Linked DNA regions of Homo sapiens: region 2 is linked to region 1. Evidence: promoter capture Hi-C in 16 types of primary human blood cells and fetal thymus (Javierre and others, 2016). All regions are on one chromosome and are shown on one strand. Each heading gives the region's core, a stretch centred on a gene start or on the middle of the fragment in contact. The rest is flanking DNA. Distances are from core to core; before and after follow the strand shown. Region 1 holds the start of BBIP1 (BBSome interacting protein 1). Region 2 holds the start of CCSER2 (coiled-coil serine rich protein 2).

The links. The method cuts DNA at HindIII sites, captures the fragments that hold promoters and counts their contacts. A CHiCAGO score of 5 or more calls a contact.
Region 2: a contact is called between a fragment that was not itself captured here and the fragment with the promoter of BBIP1 in region 1, in 1 of 17 cell types (fetal thymus). The highest score is 7.0, in fetal thymus.

Annotation. Positions count from the first base shown.
Region 1 is chr10:110,917,808-110,920,558 of GRCh38, forward strand. It overlaps BBIP1 (BBSome interacting protein 1), which reads right to left and starts at 1,373. Exons shown (of 4, transcript NM_001195305.3): 1 at 1,314-1,373; 2 at 314-406. The coding sequence starts at 350. It overlaps SHOC2 (SHOC2 leucine rich repeat scaffold protein), which reads left to right and starts at 1,797. Exons shown (of 9, transcript NM_007373.4): 1 at 1,797-1,850. RefSeq lists silencers at 707-866, 1,717-2,156, 2,167-2,256 and enhancers at 998-1,537, 1,227-1,426, 1,447-1,496. The HindIII fragment of the contact is 2,602 bases long and covers 535-2,751 here.
Region 2 is chr10:84,328,306-84,331,056 of GRCh38, forward strand. It overlaps CCSER2 (coiled-coil serine rich protein 2), which reads left to right and starts at 284. Exons shown (of 10, transcript NM_001284240.2): 1 at 284-503. RefSeq lists a silencer at 48-777 and enhancers at 828-1,177, 2,225-2,304. The HindIII fragment of the contact is 298 bases long and covers 1,260-1,557 here.

The sequences.
Region 1 (2,751 bases), core at 123-2,622:
AAGCTAAAAACATAAGCGCTATTATATATATATAACATACTGATTGTCATAAAAGATGTACAAAAAATGCTAAACTCAGAGGAAATTACTTCCTGCTGGGAAGAATCTGGAAACACATCTCCACGGGTAACAGAATCAGATACAGAATCACAAAAGGTGACTGCTACAACAGATTTCAGTAATTAACAGCAAAGAAACAAGAGTAGTTCATTTTGGCTGGCGTGTAAGTACTAAGGAAGCAGAAATTAAGTCGAGAAGGTAGGTTTGCATCTGTATTGTTGACTGGCTGGATATTAACCATTTTCAATTTTACCTGAAAGTTCTGGTCTTTTTGCTGCAGCTTTAAGCATCCAACCCGGTATTACCAAGATGACTTAGAGTTCTTGACTCAAGCATACAGAAGAAACTACAAGATAATGTATGATAACTTTGTAAAGGGCCATATAAAAGCAATACAGTATTTTCAAAAATCTTCAACACGTTGTTTAAGAAACTGTAGACCTGCAGGAATCCCACCACCAGAACCGCAGTCAAAGCTTACAAAGACTCAAAGGAGAGACGCGGAAAGGGGGGAAAAATCAGAATGGGAAGGCAGGTGGCAGGGGAAAAAGATTGAGGTCCTGCCCTGGTGGTAGGGGCTCATCTTTTCCTTTTATAGGTGAAGGTGGAAAATGATTTTCTGAAGTTCCCGAATTCTCCTCCCTCCAAAGGCCAAGGAGTGAAAGTACTTAATAGGAACTTGCGGAGGCGTGGTCAAGAGCTCCGTTTTGCCGGAGTTAGGAGCTCCGCCCCGAGGTCCCCGCCCATTCCCCGCTGGGGTCCTCCCGGCCGGGCTGCCTCTGGCTGGGTTAGGGCGGCCTGTAGAGCGGCCTCACCCCACAGGGAGCCTCACGGGGGCGGGCCGCCGCCAGGCCAGCCCGGAAAAAAACCGCCTTCCAACGGAAGCGGCCCTGAGCCCCGCTCGCCATTTCAGCGCTCTGTCCCACAGGGACCGTCCGGCCCGGGTCCGGCCCACTGGTTGGGGTCCACGGACTCACCTCACTTTGCAACTAAGGTCAAAAATAAGCATTCCCTGGGGCACGGGCGGCCAGGCTATTAACACCCTTCCGCCATGACCCAATTCGGAAGTGCCAAATGCAACTTCCGGGCAGGAGAGGGAATTTCGGAGCCCTAAACTGTTGTCCATCTCCGTAAGTGACCAGACGTCTCAGTAAAATAAGGGCCAGGAAACTGGACGTGTAATCCGGAGTATGAATTAACTTGTCTAACATGGGATGTGTGGTCACCCACGGTACCTCTTTGGGCTTACTTACAGATGCATCCCTTCCCAGACGGCTCAGCTGTTGCCCCGGGTAACGGTGAGACTGGCGAAGGAAAAAAATCTACGTCACCCTGGAAACAGGAAGCCAGGAATCTCCTTTTGCCATTATCAGTTATGGCCGCCTTAGCTTCAACAGTAACTTCCGATCGGGGAGTTGTCACTCTACCCTGCTGGAGGCTTACTCTGTAGCCCGGCTAGCCAGAGGCGCCCAGTGGGCGGGAGACGGCGTAGAGGAACTGAGGAAAGGACAAGGGCGGAGAGAGAGAAGCTGGCGGCACTGCCCGTCTCTGATTGGGCAGCTTCTCTTGCCCCGGTTCCGCCCATTTTTCTTGCCTAGCGAGTGACGGGCCCACGGCAGAGGGGTGGGGCGGGGAGGCTGGAGCGAGAGTAGTGGCGGGGCGGGCGGGGCGGGGCGAGTGGGGGAGGGGCGGGCGGGGGGCGGCGGTTGGGCAGCGTCGCTTCTTAGGAGGAGGAGGAAGAGGAGGAAGGAGGGCGAGCGAGGAGGATGGCGGAGTCGGGGCTCCTGACGGTAACTCGGGGCCGATGAGGCGGAGGGTGTCTGTTGGTCGGTTCTTCCTGCCTGCCTTCCTGTCCGTCGGGCAGTCGGGCTGGCTGTCGGTAGGGGGAGGCCCCGTGCGCCCTGACAGGCGCGAGCCGGCAGCGCCGGGGCGAGGCCCGAGGGGCCGGGGCCCTGGGAGGCGCCGCCGCCGCCGCTTTCCTGGTTGCTGTCTCCGGGAGTGCGGGGCCCTTGGAGCCGGCTCGCGTGGGAGCCTGCAGCCCGGCGCGGAGAGGAAGGCGGTCGGGTGTGACAGCGGCCGGGGCCGGGCCTGCGGCGGCGGCGGCGGGCGGCCCGGACAGCGCCTGGGCGACGGCGAGCCGGCGCGAGGGCGCGGGCCGGGGGCCCCCGGCGGACAGTCTCTCTCCTCTCGGCTCCCTGGGCCCCCGGGCCCAGTCCGCAGGGCGCCCCGAGTCGTGTAAATCGTTGGCGAGGGCCCGGGCGCAGCGGCGGTCATACAGGGTGGGGTCTCTTCTCGCCCCCTCCCTGGAGTCCACCTTGCTCTCCCGTTCTCCTCTCCCTAAAAACCCTTGAGTGAAGAGTGCTGGATCGGCTCTGGGTGTGTTGCCTAGCGAAGCGAGTTGTAGCCCTTCGAGACCGCCTCGTAGAACATGCCCGATGGCAACCTCTCCCCGTGATAGCACAGCTTTTAGGGAGAGAGGAAAAGTAGTCTCACTCTTCCCCGACTTCCCCAGGCTCATAACACAAGAGGCTTTGGGGCAAGACGATTTTTCCCCCAGCACCTCAATATCCATTGTTTTTGTACCATCCCCCTCCCCCCATGCCTAGGTGGAAGAGTAATGACTCCAAAGCATTAACTTGCCTTTCTCTTTATTTCTTTTCTTTCTTTTTCTTTTCTTCCTTCCTTTCTTTA
Region 2 (2,751 bases), core at 159-2,658, about 27 Mb before region 1:
GGGGACGGCTAGAGGTGAGGTCAGCCGCAAGACTGGCGTCACTGCGTGGGCCCAGCAAAAACCTGAGTCAGGAGGCGGCCAGGCAAGGTCAGTGGAGGGGGCGGGGCCCGAAGCGGAGGCGGAGCTTGGGAAAGCCTGGCGTGAGGGCGGGGCGGGGCCAGAGGTGGGCTGAGGCCGGATCAGGCGGTGGGGGCGGTCCCCGTAGCCCCGTGAGGCTCGCGCCTGCGCACGGGCCCGCGGCGGGGCGGGACTGCGCGTGCGCGGTGCGCCGGCCCTGGAGGGCGGAGTCCGGGCGGGCGCCGGCCGAGGGAGGGGGCGCGGCGGCTTTGGAGTCCGGCGCTCCCTCAGGCCGCGGACGCGATGCTGGTTGCTGCGGCTCGGGCGGCGGGGCTGGCGGGGATGTGACGGGCGGCCCTTCGTCTCACCTTCCGTCCTCGGGCCCGCAGGTCGCAGGGCGGCCTGCAGCTGGGCCGCGGCCGAGGAGGCAGCGCGACCTCCGCACGGTGAGATCCGGGCTCAGGGCCAGAGCCGGGGCCGGGGTCGCGGCGGGCGCCGGGGGCAGCCCAAGACCAGGCACGCAGTCCGGGGCGGGGCGGAGGCCCGAACTCCCGGGCTGAGGCGGTGTCGCCCTCCCGTACCCGGCCTCCAGGGTGAGCCTCTCTAGCCCCTCGCGAGCCGCCGGACGCGGGGCGGGCGCGGACCCGGGAGGCCGGAGGGCGCCCTCCCTGCGGCTGTGACAGCGCGGGGCCTCGGGCCGCGGGCGCCGCCGCCTTTCAGGAGAAATCAGGGCGAGGCTGAGGCACTCTGATTTCGGAGCCTGGTTGCGTGTGAGGGTGGATAGGGAAAGTACCGGGGCTCCCCGAATGAGTTCGATTTTTTTTTTCTTTCAATTACTGGGCTAAATGAAAGACACACCCTAAAACACATCCTGAGGTGAAACTTTGGTGGGGCACACCGTTGCCGTAGGTTCAGATCTTCTCTCTTGTCTTTAGACATGTATTTTCATACATTTTTAAATAATGCACCTACTTTCTTGATAAAGTAAAAGGAGGAATGAAGGGACTCCTTTGTGGTGGTCCTTGGTGGCGAAGCTTGTTTCCATTTCAGTAATTGCATATTCATCTGTGTGGGCTCCCCGACCAATGAGGCTGGCTGCTCCCAGACAAGGCCTTAGCGGAGTGGAAATGACTGACGCAGGGACTCTGGTCTCAGATTAGAGTGTTGGTAGCTCACTCCTGTAAGAGAGAAATTGAGCTTTAAGCTTTTTAAAATAGCCATATGAAAAGCATTCCTTTTCTCCTGAGCATTAAAATATGACGGAACCTATTCATTTGGCCAGTTGTTTTTTTTAAAGCATCATCTTTTAGACTAGAGACTTTAGAGATGGCAGCTGCTCTTTAACCAAAAGGAACTTAAGATGCTCTCCTGCAAAAGATGGGTTCAAAACATGTCTTATCCGTCATCCATATGTGATAAAAATGTAAATATTCCTGAGTGTTTGCCTGAAATCAGTCTTCTTCCTCTTGGACTTTATTACTGTTTCTCTTAATTTATGAAAGCTTGTTACTGTTATTTTTTGTTTTCGTTTGTGTTCTAAACAACATTGGCTTCAAATAATCTTCAGGTTAAAAATGCACACTTTGTTGAACCCTTTAGCCATAATTCATACTGTCGTACTTCAGCATAAGCCATAGTTAAGAAAGCACTAGAAGCCATCCTGAAAGCAAGCCGAAAGTCTCTATTAAGAATTCTGTAAAAATTCTACCTTTCCACATTCAGACCTGCATTTTTTGTTGCTTTGACTCAACTCCTTTGACTATTTTGGAGGAAGGGACTTTGAATCCATATTTACAAGTCCTTCAGTGACTCTCCATAGTCTATATCGATAAAATTCAAAGTCCTTCATGATTAGCGGTATTTGTCTCCATTCTAGTGTCATCTTCTACCATTATGCCTGCCCTCTCTATATAAGACTGTTGCAGTTCTCTGAAGATGACATCTTCCTCTGTGGTTTTTCAGTGTTCTTTGTTGAGAATTCTCTACCTAGTAAACAACTTGCCCTTGAAGACCTTACGAAAGTAGCACTTCTGAGGCTTGTCTAGACATTTCATCCCTCTTGTCTTAACTGATTCGTACACTCTCCAGTTAGTATTTGTCAACTGGTAGTTAATGATTTGTTTATGTGTCTGTCTCCACCAGGTTTTGGGGTTTCTTTTGTGTTTTTTGAGACAGAGTCTTGCACTGTGGCCTGGGCTGGAGTGCAATGGCCTCATCTCGGCTCACTGCAACTTCTGCTTCCTGGGTTCATGCGATTCTCTTGCCTCAGCCTCCTGAGTAGCTGGAATTATAGGCACACACCACCACACCTGGCTAATTTTTTTTTAGTAGAGACGGGTTTCAGTATGTTGGCCAGACTGGTCTCAAACTCCTGACCTCGTGATCCGCCCACCTCGGCCTCCCAAAGTGCTGGGATTGTAGGCTGGTTAGGAATGAAACCCCAGTTATGTTAAAAAAAATCCATTTTATGATACAGGAATAAAAAGGGCATGACCAATAAAGATTGCTGCTTCATTGGTCCTACAACTTTATTTTGAGGCGCAAAGTCACGCAGGTAGAAAGGGATGGCGGGGATTACAGTCCAGGTCTTTTGACCATCTGTGTATTTCACTTTTGCCCCCAGTCTCCTAATTCTAAATCTTAATTGTTTTACAATTTGAATGGGAGTTGTGAGCGACTTGGATGTGTTCTGAA